5 separate regions of the Homo sapiens genome follow, and all the other regions are linked to region 1. The links are contacts of gene promoters, found by promoter capture Hi-C in blood cells and fetal thymus (Javierre and others, 2016). All regions are on one chromosome and are shown on one strand. The core of a region is centred on a gene start or on the middle of the fragment in contact, and the rest is flanking DNA. Distances in the headings are between cores, read along the strand shown.

What was found. Contacts are between HindIII fragments. The CHiCAGO score rates a contact against its expected background, and 5 or more counts as called.
Region 2: a contact is called between the fragment with the promoter of C1orf74 here and the fragment with the promoter of CAMK1G in region 1, in 8 of 17 cell types (neutrophils, non-activated CD4 T cells, total CD4 T cells and 5 more). The highest score is 11.9, in neutrophils.
Region 3: a fragment that was not itself captured here is called in contact with the fragment with the promoter of CAMK1G in region 1 in 1 of 17 cell types (neutrophils); the score reaches 7.6 in neutrophils.
Region 4: a contact is called between the fragment with the promoter of IRF6 here and the fragment with the promoter of CAMK1G in region 1, in 5 of 17 cell types (neutrophils, naive CD4 T cells, non-activated CD4 T cells and 2 more). The highest score is 10.1, in neutrophils.
Region 5: a fragment that was not itself captured here is called in contact with the fragment with the promoter of CAMK1G in region 1 in 2 of 17 cell types (neutrophils and monocytes); the score reaches 13.4 in neutrophils.

What each region holds. Positions count from the first base shown.
Region 1 is chr1:209,582,335-209,585,034 of GRCh38, reverse strand. CAMK1G (calcium/calmodulin dependent protein kinase IG) reads right to left here and starts at 1,321. Exons shown (of 13, transcript NM_020439.3): 1 at 1,263-1,321. All of the region lies in intron 1 of LOC107985256 (a long non-coding RNA gene), which reads left to right. The HindIII fragment of the contact is 1,486 bases long and covers 209-1,694 here.
Region 2 is chr1:209,783,259-209,785,958 of GRCh38, reverse strand. It overlaps C1orf74 (chromosome 1 open reading frame 74), which reads left to right and starts at 1,400. Exons shown (of 2, transcript NM_152485.4): 1 at 1,400-1,581; 2 at 2,250-2,700. The coding sequence starts at 2,325. It overlaps IRF6 (interferon regulatory factor 6), which reads left to right. Exons shown (of 9, transcript NM_006147.4): 9 at 1-342. RefSeq lists enhancers at 462-1,077, 1,262-1,521, 1,078-1,695. The HindIII fragment of the contact is 4,418 bases long and covers 1-2,700 here.
Region 3 is chr1:209,766,733-209,769,432 of GRCh38, reverse strand. All of the region lies in intron 8 of TRAF3IP3 (TRAF3 interacting protein 3), which reads right to left. Among named protein-coding and RNA genes, the nearest start is that of TRAF3IP3, 12 kb to the right of the region's middle. RefSeq lists an enhancer at 1-37. The HindIII fragment of the contact is 594 bases long and covers 1,026-1,619 here.
Region 4 is chr1:209,804,771-209,807,470 of GRCh38, reverse strand. IRF6 (interferon regulatory factor 6) reads left to right here and starts at 1,329. Exons shown (of 9, transcript NM_006147.4): 1 at 1,329-1,524. RefSeq lists a silencer at 1,064-1,407. The HindIII fragment of the contact is 4,987 bases long and covers 246-2,700 here.
Region 5 is chr1:209,726,895-209,729,594 of GRCh38, reverse strand. The region is part of intron 4 of HSD11B1 (hydroxysteroid 11-beta dehydrogenase 1); the gene reads right to left. The region is part of intron 1 of HSD11B1-AS1 (HSD11B1 antisense RNA 1); the gene reads left to right. Among named protein-coding and RNA genes, the nearest start is that of HSD11B1-AS1, 14 kb to the left of the region's middle. The HindIII fragment of the contact is 5,210 bases long and covers 1-2,700 here.

The DNA.
Region 1 (2,700 bases), core at 72-2,571:
AAACCCTTTAACTTCTAAGCTTCAATGGTCTCATCTATACTAAAGGGGAAATAATACATGCCACACCATCTGATGGGATCGTCCTAAAGATGATTAATTATAAACACATTATAAACTGTAAAGTGTGGTCCCCATATCAGGTATTACTAAGCACTCTGTGTTACGGCCTGTTTCAGAGGTGGGTCTCATCTTTGGTTCTGGTTAAGCTTGGGTCAGCAGGAATGACAGGGACCTTGTTCTGTCTTCAGCTTATGATCTGGAAAAGATCATCTTCTTACCTAAGGCGGAATCTGCTTGACTCTCTTGACCCTTCTCAGAGGCTTTCCTCATGATCAATTTATCTGACTCCAGAGCAAGAGGCTGGCCAGACAAGCACTGCAGCCAGACCAGCGTGAGCCCTGGCAGCCATCTCCGGGAGCCTCAGGGTTAATGTTTGTGCGTCAAAGTTACGTGGAGAGAAGGGGCCATGGTGTGGATGGGGGTGGTGGTGGTGGTGAATCCAGACCTCCTTTTAAGATCTTCACTTGAGAGGTAAACTAGGGAAGTTTAAAAACAGAAGGGAGGTAGACGCGCCCCTGGGGAAGGTGAAGGAAGCTGTCTTGTGACTGACAGCGATAGCTCGGCTGCGTTCTGCATCTTAACGCGGCTGAGGATAGGGAGCCTGAAGCCTGTCCACAGACTCCTCCAGGAGGGACTGAGGCTGACTCGTCTTCCTTAGGCTTGCAGAGCCACAGGCTGTTTACAAATCTTTTTGCCATTGGTTCTGCTAATCCTCCCAATAACCCAAAGAGGTCGGCAGAGAGGGCATACTTTATTTGATGGATGGGGTCAGAGAGGTTAAGAGATGAAGGTTGAGCAGGAGGGAGGGGTGCAAGAGAGTTGGAGGTCCTAACACCCCAGCAGATGGACGGGGTCCCTCTAGGCACAGAGCCTTGTCCCTAGAATGCAGGCATTGCAGGAGGGGCACATGAAGATATTTTTCTCCCTTTTCCCTGCCCAGAAGGGCAAAATGCTTCCATGAAAGCCAGCCCAGGAGTGACGGACAGATAGCTCCACCCGGACCCCCCATTCAGACTTATTTTCCAAGACAGCTATAACTCACCCTTGATGCCAAAAGAGTCAGGGAAGACTGGAACTGGGGCTGAAATAAATGCCCAAGTTGCTTACAAAGTGGCTCTTCAAATCCACTCACTAGGTGCTGCACGCTTCCCATTAAGCAAGGAGACCCTCTAAAGCCAAGAAAAGAAGCAGGGTTGTCTTACCCAGGGACTCGGGAAGAATCCTGCTTGAGCTCCCACTCCAGCTCCTACAGGTCTGTGAGGATTAGCTGCTCCAGTGCTTTAACAATAAACCCAATTAAAGGGGAGGAATGCAGGAGTTTTCTTTCCCAGGACCGTAACCACGCAGCCTTAAAGGGGAGTAAAAGTAGCTAGGGTGGCTTGCATCTCTCTTTCCTTTCCTCGGCTCTGCTCACCCTCCCTCCCAGCGTGCAGTAATGAGTCTTATCCAGAAAAATGCTTGTGCATTTTTGCCTGGTGTGTGTGTGTGTGAGTCTGTGTGCATGTGTATGTGAAATTGTGTTTGCATTGATGTGTGTGATGGAAAGACAGAACGGAAGAATGAAAAACAAAAACATCAAATTATAAGTTCCCATTATCCTGAATGGGTGATGACAGAAAAAAATCAGAGAAGCTTTCTAGGATTGTCTGCCTCAGTTTCCTTTTTAACCCCTCAGGTGCTGGTGTATGTTGTCTAAAAACACCTCCCTGAAAAACAGAACATCTACACTGGCTGACATGTAGGGACTGAAGACAGTGTCCACCTTGCTTGTTATCTCTTACAGAACTGGGAGAAAGGGCCTTGGATGTCCCAAAAGGGGCCCCTCAGTTGGACGGTCTCACTCAGTATCTTTGATATGTCTCTTTTCCTCCAGAAGCTCAGCATTCTGGTCCCCAAACCTGTCTCAGTCCTAACCTATGAGACCCCAGGAAATCATTCCCCTCCTCCGGAAACTCTGTGCTCCCTCTGTTTCCTGTACTCATCTCTCCAACCTGGCCCTTGACCAAGGCTTCACAGTCTCCATCTTAGCTTCTCTGGGGCAGTCCCTTTAGTGCAGATTTCTTTAAACTCTGTCATCTGCTCTCTTGTTTTCTCCTTCTCTACTCTCTCCTTAAGGTTACCATCTACTCACAGAGTCTATTACCATCTTCATAAGAATCTCCTCAGTCAACACCCCACCTGGGTTATCATGCTCAACCTCAACATCCAAATGCCCACTGTCACCTACAAACAAGGCTGAATGTGTTATGGCCACCCTCAAACCCACTCTCCTGTTTTCCCCAACTAGGCTAATGAGCTACCATCTTCCAAACACTCAACTGAGAAACTCCAGGGTTTGCTTTGTTTGTGTTGCCTGTTTAATTTGTCTTCCAAACCCATCCAGCTCTTATGCACTTCCATTTGTTCCTTGAAATTAGCTTTTAACTTGTACCATTTCTTTTGTGTCATCTTGTTTTTTGAATAAATAACATATTCATATTGGCAAGAAAATGACCATATTAAAAGGCATACATTGAGATGTGTTACCCCCTTCTACTCGTTATCTGTCCCTTGACCCTGACATTGCCCTCTATAGGTGACCACTTTTATTATGGTATTTCTTTATGCAAATACAAGCAAATATTCACCTCTATGATCTCA
Region 2 (2,700 bases), core at 151-2,650, 200 kb before region 1:
AGGTAAACTGGGAGAGCAAGTGTTGGATCTGGGCTGGTCCCTTTCCCATAAAATTAGGTCCCTGGTTGTATGTTCCCATAGCACCCCATACTTCCTCTCTCAGAATAATCATTTCCCTTGTAATGCTCAGCATCCGCATCCTGCTTGACTGCAAACTTGCTGAAGGTAGGGACTGTTTGTCTTGGACTTCGCTGCCAGTCCTTAGAACAGTGTCTGGGACACAGTGTGTTCTCAAATATTTGTTGCTGGAATAAATGAATGAACTAAATCAGTCTTTTAGGGATTTACTGTTAACCACCATGGGAAAATTAAATAAATGCGGGGAAGGAAAACGTTCTAAAATTAGAAGACTACTTTCTACTCTCAGCTTCTGATTCCCTCTGAGCTAAGAACCAGACAGCCTTAGGCTGGTAACTCCTATAAGCTGGTCCTCCTCCCATGCTGACCCCATCTTTACTGTACAATTCACTTTTCATGGACTGAAGGCACCACCAAGATAGATCCAGGAGTGACAACTCCAGTGTAGGTGTCCACTGTTCCCTTAATCTCTGTCCTGCTCCAAGTATAAATAAATTGGGGCCATTTCCTTAGATATTGGGGTTTTCTCAAGAAATCCTTTCCCTTCGTGGCATGGGTCAAATCGCTGGTAGTTAAAAAGGTGTTAACTCTTACGTGAAATAACACTTTTTCTTTGTAATGACCTGACTGGAAAGCCTCTGTGTCATCACTTCTCATTTCTTATTTGAAATCAGCAAACTGGATTCAGTAGACATGAACTTAAGCCCCATGAAAGTGGGGGTTTTGTCTGTTTTGCTCACTGCAGTACCTCCAGGGCCTAGCAGCATGACTGGCACATATTTGTTCAAAGTGAATACTCACACCTTCACACCCTCCCTAGAGAGCTGTTGTAGGCCTCTCAAATGTAGGATTTAGGGAAGTCAAGTTAAAAAAAATTAAAACGTTTCAGCACCACCCACAGGTGAGGCTATTCTGCAAAATATGTTGTCTTGAGGTATGTTTCGTCTGGACAAAACGTATTTCCACAGACACAAATCAAAGGTGTTTATTAACTGCTGTGTGCCCTGTTTCTGGATTCCCAGTCAAGTGGGACACCAGACGTCATAACACAGGGAGGACGTTCGGCGAAGCAAAATGAGGGCAGCAGCGGGAAACCAGTTTCACCAGGTTCCGCCTTTTCTCGTTTACTTCCGCCCTTCCCAGTTCCTAAGCCGACAGATGGGGCCGCGTTCAGTCTGGCCGGAAAGGGCGGGCCGCACGGTGGCCCAAACTTCCGGCGCGCAGTAAGGCTGCCTAGCTAGTGATTCTAACGCGAGGCGCGCGAGCGGCTGGATGACGTCACGGAATGGGGGGAAAGAGGGCGGCACTCGAGTGGGTGCGCATGCGCAAGAAGGTGCCTGCGGGACTGGAGCAGAGCGGGCTGCGAGGGTCTTCCCAGCGCAGGCGGGTTTTCCAGTGTTACTTGCGGCTGGGCGTGGGGGACTAGCTGCCTTTCTGGCAGCAGGCAGGAAGCCGCAAAAAGTTTCTGAGCCCCCGAACCTGTAGCGGACGTGGAAAAAGAACGTATGTGAGACAGACTTATGCCTCATTTAGCAAATCACTATAACATGCTCTGGTGTGGGGTGTGTGGATCGGAGAAATCTCATCTTCCGAGGGTCCTTGATGTCGGACAGAAAGGGAAGGCGGGGCCAGCAGAAGTTAAAATACTACCCTTCTGCAGTTCTAGTGGATTTCATTCATTCATTTTTATGTGTCAGGGTGAGATGGTTGTTAGTCCACATTCTGGTGTATATTAATCAAATTACTATTCTTATAACTATTCTCTGGCGGGAAGAGTAGGGGAGTTGTCAGTGGAAAGGATACATTTGGAACTTGGAGCTCTGTCCCAGAAGGGCTTTTGGGCGAAATGCTGTGAATTTTGCCAAACACTGCCCCGCCTCCGCCTCTGCCCCAAATTCCCTACGGTTTGAACCAGAGAACGTAATTTGCAACAGGTGAAATTTAGAATAAAAGCCAGAGGGAATATAAATCTAGCTATAAGGCTAGAAAAACACACGAATTTATGATTGAGGGAGACCAAGTCAACCAGAAAAATCAAGCAGCATCGGTGAAACTATCTTGTCTGGGCTGGGTCGCCATTTCAAAGCAGGGAGGGACAGAATAACCTTTGGAAGATACCGCGATTTAACAGGAAGGCTGTTAATAATTCCCTGCTCCTGCTTTGTTTCTAGGCCCCTCCTCAAGTGTCTGGCTGAAAGATGCCACCCAGGGAAGGGAACTCGGGCTAGCTAAGGAGGCCATTCTTGATGTTGCTTCTAGATCTCATGTCATCACCGAGCCCTCAGCTGCTGGTGGCAGCTGCTCAGCAGACCCTTGGCATGGGAAAGAGACGGAGTCCACCCCAAGCCATCTGCCTTCACTTAGCTGGAGAGGTGCTGGCTGTGGCCCGGGGACTGAAGCCAGCTGTGCTCTATGATTGCAACTGTGCAGGGGCATCAGAGCTCCAGAGCTATCTGGAGGAGCTGAAGGGGCTTGGCTTCCTGACTTTTGGACTTCACATCCTTGAGATTGGAGAAAACAGCCTGATTGTCAGTCCTGAGCATGTATGTCAGCACTTGGAGCAGGTGCTGCTTGGTACCATAGCCTTTGTGGATGTTTCCAGCTGCCAGCGTCACCCTTCTG
Region 3 (2,700 bases), core at 73-2,572, 180 kb before region 1:
CAGGGATTTGGCATCTACAATAAGCAGAGGGCTTTGGGACCGATGGAAGACGTGGACAAAGACTTCTACTGTTTGAGCTTTGAAGTAACTGGTAAAACGGCTGCATTCCACTGTGGCCTGTTCATTGTCAATCCACAGGTCCTGAAATCAACTGGCTCTACACCTACCTCCTCTGGTTCACATCTTCGGTTCCACACATTTGCCTTTGCCCAAACTCTTTCTATGCAGAATGCAATCAAACCTACCAAATTTAAGGTTTATCTTGCTGTATTTTGGGAATATAGCAGGCCTAAGGCAATATTCTTAAAATTTTCCCAGTCTCCTACCCTTTTGGGGTACCTCCTCTCTCCCCATTCCATAGTATGGCTTTAATCCAATATTTTGCCTCTTTCAACTGTTTTTGTATTGGCCCAACCCCAAATTACTTTTCCATTCGTGTTGCAACGGAAGACAATTTACCATAGCCACTTCAGTGGGGATGAAGGGCCACCCAAGTCTGGAGCTTGAATGAAACCTCTTTCCACAGCTCTGCTTTTCTGGACTCCCCAAAACGTCATAAAAGTCGCAGCCAAGTTGTTGCAAATCGGGCATGTAGTTTCCTGGTCTGAGCCCCAGGGTCCCCCACACTGAAGCCCAGTGTTACAGTATGTGGGAAGAAGCACTTTTTACAGGCCTACTGCTGACATTCTAGGCAGTTAGACCCCGGGAGCCGAGGGCTCAGAGGGCATATAAACCCCAGTGAAGAGAGGAGCAAGGCGGAGGCCATACACACCTGGTGCCGGTCTGAGGTCTTCAGCTCCTGCTTCTGCGTGGTTTTCCCCTGCCTCTGATCTGCTCTCCAGAAACACCACCACCTCACCACAGAAGCACCAGCCCACAGCTCATCTCTCTGCTCTAGTAGAGGTTGCTTAGGGCTTCAGCCAATCCCCGCTGCGCTGTCATCTCAAGATCTTAATTCCAGGACGCAGATCTTCAAACCCAAGGCTGCCCTGCTCTCGTTTTTGTATTGCACAATATTGAAAGCTTGCTTTCTCTGCTAGTAGAGCTGTTTCTGCCCTGAAGGTTGGACCCTCCTCAGGAGTCTCAATAGTGCCCCAGAGCCTATGGTATCCAAAAGGCCCAGAGACATCCGGAGGTGAAGCCAGCGGAGGGAGCTGATCCTTGGGATTCTAATAGGGAGTTTGTGGTAAGTTCTCAGCATGTGAAGTTGGAAATTCAAATTTATGAAGGTCAAATGGCAAAAATAAAGGTCTGAACCAGTTCTGGCCACTTTCTTCCAATTATTTTTCCCAGATACCACAGTTTGGGGCTATACTTTTATTGGAGTTGAGGCTTTCATGGAAGAGATAGAGAGTTGAATTACCTTATTTTAGGGGAAACAATAGCTGTTAACTGAAAAAGTCTGAGACTGTTTTTCTTTAAAACTGGAAGCTAGGGGGTTGGTGGGGAGGAGGGACAAAGAAGAGAAGGGTGAGGATTGGGAGGGGTGAGAAGAAGGGAGGGAGGAAACCACAACCAAGGGAACTTCTGCTCTTGGGCTGGAGCATGGGGTGAAACTCCTCCTTGGAGACAAACCCAGAAATGTCTCTTAATATATCCCCCCTCATTCCCACAAAGCTTGCTTTGATTCAAGCTCTGGTTGTGTCTTACCTGGGATATTACAAGAGTCTCAACTCCCCCAACCCCTGCTTGGAGCCAGGGTTCTTATTGCTACAAGTTAGATAATCCTTGAACCCTCCCCCCTCTTTTTTTTTTTTCAAGACAGGGTCTTGCTCTGTTACCCCATGCAGGAGTACAGTGGTGCAGCCTGGACCTCCTGGGCTCAAGCGATCCTCCTGCCTCAGCCTCCCAAGTAGCTGTGACTATAGGTGTGTACCACCATGCATGGCTAATTTTTTTATTTTTAATAGAGATGAGGTCTCACTATGTTGCCCAGGCTGGTCTTGATCACTCAAGTGATCCTTCTGCCTTGGCCCCCCAAAGTGTTGGGATTACAGGTGTGAGACACTGCATCCAGTTGGAAATTACAGAACTTTTTAAGACACAGATCTGATCATTCACAAGTCATTTCCTCAGATAGTAATTGCATACCTTCTAAGGATGAGCCAGACATTGCTAAGTGTAGGACTTTATACCTCAATAAAGCATAGTTCCATTCTTACTCAGCTTATTACCTATAGCAGTGTTTCTCAAGCTGGGTAGCATGCATTCTAAAGGATCTCTGATTTTATATATATACATATATGGGTTTCCTTTAAAAATGGGTCCATGCATTATTCAAGTTTGAGATACCTTGTTCAACAGAAAAAGTTTAAGACCCATAATTCTAAAGACCTGTCTGAGATCCTTTCTTTGGTACTACTCTGGCATACCTTCATTTCAGCCATACTCTGCTATACCCAATTCTTTGCCATACATAGGCCTGTAATCATTCCAATTCCTTTACCTTAAACACTCTTCTACTTTCTGCTTTTTTCCCTCATCATCACTCTTGCTTCTCTACTGGTTAGCTCCTACTCATCCTTCAAGATTCAGCTAAAATGGTTTCTTTCCTTTATTTTTATTTTTTGAGACAGAATCTTGCTCCGTCACCCAGGCTGGAGTGCAGTGGCACAATCTCAGCTCACTGCAACCTCCACCTCCTGGGTTCAAGCAATTCTTGTGTCTCAGCCTCCTGAGTAGCTCGGACTTCAGGCATGC
Region 4 (2,700 bases), core at 80-2,579, 220 kb before region 1:
GGGTACATGCAGGACTTGAATTTCAGGTAATAACAAGGAATGCCTTCTTGTTCTCTGACGCACTGTCTATATGGTATTTTTAATCTTTATGCCAATAATAATTGCAAGTACATATAAAGCACTTGATAAGTGCTAAATATTGTTGCAAGCAGTTTACATGTAGTTATTGAATTCCCACAATACCCCTGAGGTAGGTACTATTACTAACCTCTTTCTACAGATAAGACACCAGGGCCTAAAAAGCTTAAGAAACTTTCCCAAGTCTGTAGTAACTGATGGAGTTGGGGTCTAAACCCCAATAGTTGGCTCCAGAGGCTATGCTTTTACTCATTACACGATAGTGATCAGAGGAAGCAGGAACTCCAGTCTGGGCAACATAGTCAGACCCTGTCTCTAAAAAAAAAAAAAAAAAATTAGCCGGGCATGGTGACCCATGCCTATATTTCCAGTTACTTGGGAGGGTGAGGTGGGATAATTGCTTGAGCCCAGGAGGTTGAGCTATGATTGTGCCACTGCATTCTAGCCTGGATGACAGAGCCAGACCCTGCCTAAAAAAAAAAAAAAAAAAAAAAAAAGGAATTGAACTGGGTGCCAGTGCCTGTAATCCCAGCACTTTGCGAGGCTGAGGCGGATCCCTTGAGCCCAGGTGTTGCAGACCAGACTGTGTAACTTAATAGCAAGACCCCATCTCCAAAAAAAAAAAAAAAAAAAAAGGAAGAAAAAAGAAAGAGAAAAAAGCAAACAACAACAAAAAAGAAGGAAGGAATTATTATTCTCATTGAAGAGATGAGGAAACTGAAACCAAGAAGCCAAGAAGCTAAGTAACTTACCCAGGGTCACACGGGTAAGAGGCAGAGTAAAGGTAGAATTCTAGTCCTGAAAGCCTATGGCTTCTCCCAGACAGGACCAAGTGTCCTGGTTCTCTTCTTCATGTGCAACTCCACTTACACAGGCCCACGAGTAGTAGGGCCAACCCAGAATCTCAAAACCCTTATTTGTGCTTAACTGTCTGCATACTGCAGGGTAATTATGGGCCGTGAAGGAGGGAGGCACCCTCTCGACTTAGATCTGAACTCCCAGTCGCTTCCAGTTCCCAGGACCACCAGCCCTGAGCCGTAAGGCTAGGCCTGAATCTGGGACTTTCTTAGCCGGAGTTAGAAGCGGAGGAGTAGGGTGGGACGCTGGACGGACGCCGCTGGGCCGGGCAGCCCAGAAACGCGGAGTGTCATATTTCTTGCAACTCGCCAATCCCGAACGCCGGGGGGCGTGGCCACACCTGGGAGGCGTGGCCGGGCGGATGCGAAGGCTGCGGCGTCCTGGGGCGAGGCGCTGACGTGAGCTCGGCGCACCTGGGCTGGGCAGGTAAGGGCTGGTGCGGGACGGGGAGAGGAACCTGCAGTCCCTACTTGGGTAGAGCCAGGCGCCCCTTGGCTAAGACGTCGAGGAGCGTGGTAGCGACGGGTGATCTTCGCTGCGGACTTGGTTCGGAGGGACGTCCGCTTCTGGTGGACAGATTGAGCAAAGGTGGGTACGCCAACTTCTGGGGACCAGCTTGAGGGAGGAGAGGCTCCCCCGTGGGTGGGGTAGGACCCATCCCCGGAGTTTGTAGGGGGTGAGAGAACTTGCTTGGGGGCATCTGTGTGTTTGGGGTGGGTACCCACTGGGGCTGGGTGCCTGTCGCCCTTTTCCAGATAGCTTTGGGGCGGCCTCAGTTCTGTAGCGCTAGGCCCCTCTCGAATCTACACTTGTGTCTACTCTCCCTACCCCCACCGCCGAAGCGGAGGGCACTGCTCTCGGCCGTCAACAACCCCACTATCCGGTAGAGCTAAAGCACCGCGCCCCCTTCAGTCTTACCAACTTGCGGCTGGCCCCTGTGTCCCAGAGAGGGGACTTCCCAGGTCCGCAGGTCCTTGATCCTAGTGGGCGTTTTGGGAAACTGGAGTGAGGGTGGCCAGGAGCTTTGGAGCATTGGCGGTTTGTCTTCCCTCCCTGAGTCTGTTTGGCACAGTTAGGCCCTTCGCCCTGGGCCTGGGAGACAACCTTGGATTTCCAAGGAGCGGAGCTAGGTGCTGGGGAGGGTGGCGCTGGGGTGTGGTTGCTCTGGGGGTGGGCCCTCTTTGCCCGAAGGGGCTGGAGGGTGGTGTGGAGAATGGGGAAAGTCTCCCAGGCCTGACTTGGAAAGGAGGCCTGAGGTGTCACTCTTTACAGGGAGCCTGCTTTGTGGTAAAGGGGTCATCCTGTTCCAACCTGTTCTCTTGGTGGATGTCAAGAGTGGAAGTCAGGGAAAAGAGATGGATAGAGAGAGGAAGGCGCTTGGGTGGGATTGGTGAAAGCTGGTGTTGACCCAGGAGTGTGGTTTAGGATGAGACGTGTGTATGATGTATGACAGTGGCACTCAATACCTTGTAACTCCCATTCGCCATCCCCCAGCTTCCATCCAGCAGAAGGGAAGGGTGTGGGCATTTTGACTAGAGGCCTGCAGTTTACCCCTAAGCAGGGCTAAACAGGGAAGCCTGAGGAACGGAACTTAGACGATGGCATTTCATTTCTTTCAGGAGAAAGGGAAGAGCTGGGACTGCTAAGAATTGTCTGCGAGAAATGGCGTGTGTTTTAACCTGAGCAAAACCACTGACGGCCAAATCTCGGCTTTTGTGTGGCAGTGCCCCTGGAAACTAGTCTGGGGAGGAGCTATGGAGGTGG
Region 5 (2,700 bases), core at 89-2,588, 140 kb before region 1:
CCTTCTTGGTGTCTGAAGGTGGATGTAATGGCTATGGCTCCAGACCTATCTTGGACCATGAGGTAGAAGCCACGTGTTGAGGATGGCAAAACATTTAGATAGTTTAGATAGAAGGAAGGAACCTGGGTGACCATGGAGCTGCCATACTATACTGGCCCTATACTGCCTACCTTCAGACCTGATTTAAATTTTAACTTACTTGTGTGTGTGTGTGTGTGTGTGTGTGTGTGTTTTCCGAGGCAGAGTCTTGCTCTGTTGCCCAGGCTGGAGTGCAATGGCATGATCTCGGCTCACTGCAACTTTTGCCTCCCAAGTTCTAGTGATTCTTCTGCCTCAACCTCCCGAGTAGCTGGGATTACAGGTTTGAGCTACCAAACCTGGCTAATTTTTGTATTTTTAGTAGAAACAGGGTTTCACCATGTTGGCCAGGCTGGTCTTGAACTCCTGATCTCAAGTGATCCACCTGCCTCGGCCTCCCAAAGTATTGGGATTACAGGCATGAGCCACTATGCCTGGCCTAAATGCTAACTTATTGAATCCACTATTATTTTAGGTTTTCTGTATCTGAGAGCTGGACTTACTTCTTATTGATAGTTATCCTCACTTCTATGCAGCCCATGTGCCAAAAGAAAGCTGACATCATTCCTAACTGCAGGTATGAGCTTATGTAATCTATTTTATCCCATTCTTCTTACTCATGATTGATACAGGAATGGCCATGTGGCTCATTTTGGACCAATGAGATTTGAAGAAAATTTTGTTGGAGTGTCTCAAAAAGTTATTGTTTTTCTGGAAGAGTTTCTGAGAGTAGCAATCCTCTTTTTCTTCCAACACATTTTTTGTGCATTGATATGGGGGCTGGAATTGCTGCAGCTATCTCATTGTCAGCCTGAGGATGAAGCCACACATGGAAGAGAGCAGAGCCAAGAGAATCACGGGGACACTGAGCTTCAGCCAAGTCAACTGTGAAGCCTGCCCTACATCTGGACTTCCAGTTATGTCAATAATTTTCCTTATTGTTTGAGACAAAAATAGATCCACATTACTTATCAGAATAGCATAATAATTAAAAGTATGAGCTCTAGAGTCAGATGACCCAGGTGTGAATCCCAAGTATGCCAATTCTTAGCTGTAATATGTGGATAATAATATAACCAAGCTGAAGTAACCCATGTAATATACTTAGCACAAACTCTGGCACATAGAAAGCATTCAGAAAATGCTATTATTGTTAGCAGTATTAGTATTCAAATTGGTGAGAAAAGTATGAGCTATTCAAAAAATCATGTTGGGACAAATAGCTAGTTACTTGGAGAAAAAAGTGCCATTCTAATAAACAAATTCAAATTAGATCACAGAGTATATGTGGAAAGTAAAAAACTAAAATAAGCTATTGGTGAATTTCTAATCTCAAAGTTAGAGATACTTTTTAAAGCATGAAATTGGAGGCATATACTATGAAGGAAGACATAAATAGGTTGGAATATATAAAATGTGAAAAGCTACAGTGTACTAGAAATGCTTGCCATGGACTTCCTGCCCTCATCCCCTTCAAAGAGCCTTTATCTTTCTAGCCATGGAAGGTTGGCCCAGTTATCACGAATATGCACACTGGCTTGAACACACATCGTGGTCTCTCTTTCAATAAATTGAAATAAGTGACCAAAAGATTCTGATTGCTGCTGTTGGATTTTGAATGAAAAGGTCATGTAAGGTTGGGACTGGGGTAGCCATTTCAGCCATGGAGAGGGATAAGTAAGCGGAGACAAGTATTCTGCAAAAATAAGCAAGCATATGGAGCAAACACAATAACCTCTGAAATTGAGCTAAATAGGAACTAACATTTATTTAGCTCTTATGTGCCAGTGTAGAATCTAAAGGATAAATGCTCAAAGTTTCAAGGTTAATGAGTGGGAGAAGCAGGATTCAAACCAGGATTCAAATTTGACTCTAGTGGCCCACACTCTTGAACACTAGGTGGTACTTCCTCTACAGAAGGCACTGTTCTTTATATGAGTGTTTTCCAGGAGCCATGTGTTAAATCCAGTTCTTTCTGCATTGGTGAGGATTCTCTCTCTTTTGATAGTCGAGTCCAAAATAGGCAAAATTTATGAATAGCAGTATTATTTTCACTTCTAAGCTGACAGATGAGGATACCCATAAATAAACAGGGCTAGTCACTCCTAGTCCCTTTGTATTCATTTCCCTGGGCTGCCATAACAAATTACCACAAACTTGGTAGCGTAAGACTACAGAAATGTGTTCTCTTACAGAACTGGAATCCAGAAGTCCAAAACCAAGTTATCAGCACAGCCATGCTCCCCCCAAAACCTATAGCAGGGAATCCTTCTTTTTTCTCTTCTAGCTTCTAATGTCTGCTGGCAGTTGGAGCTGAGTTGTGCTGGCAACTCCAGTCTCTGCCTCCATCTTCACATCACTTTCTTCTCTTCTGTCTGTGTCTTTTACTCTTCATATAAGGTTACTTGTCATTGGATTCAGGGCCTCTCAGATAATCGGGAATGATTTCATCTTGAGATCTTAGTTACATCCTCAAGGACTTTCTATGTGTCCACTTAAGGTCACGTTCACAGGATCTAGGTGGATATATCTTTTGGGGGAGGACCACCATTCAGCCCACTACACACCCCTAGATGACAATAAAGATATTGACTATGACATTTAATGTGTTTGTCTAGGTGG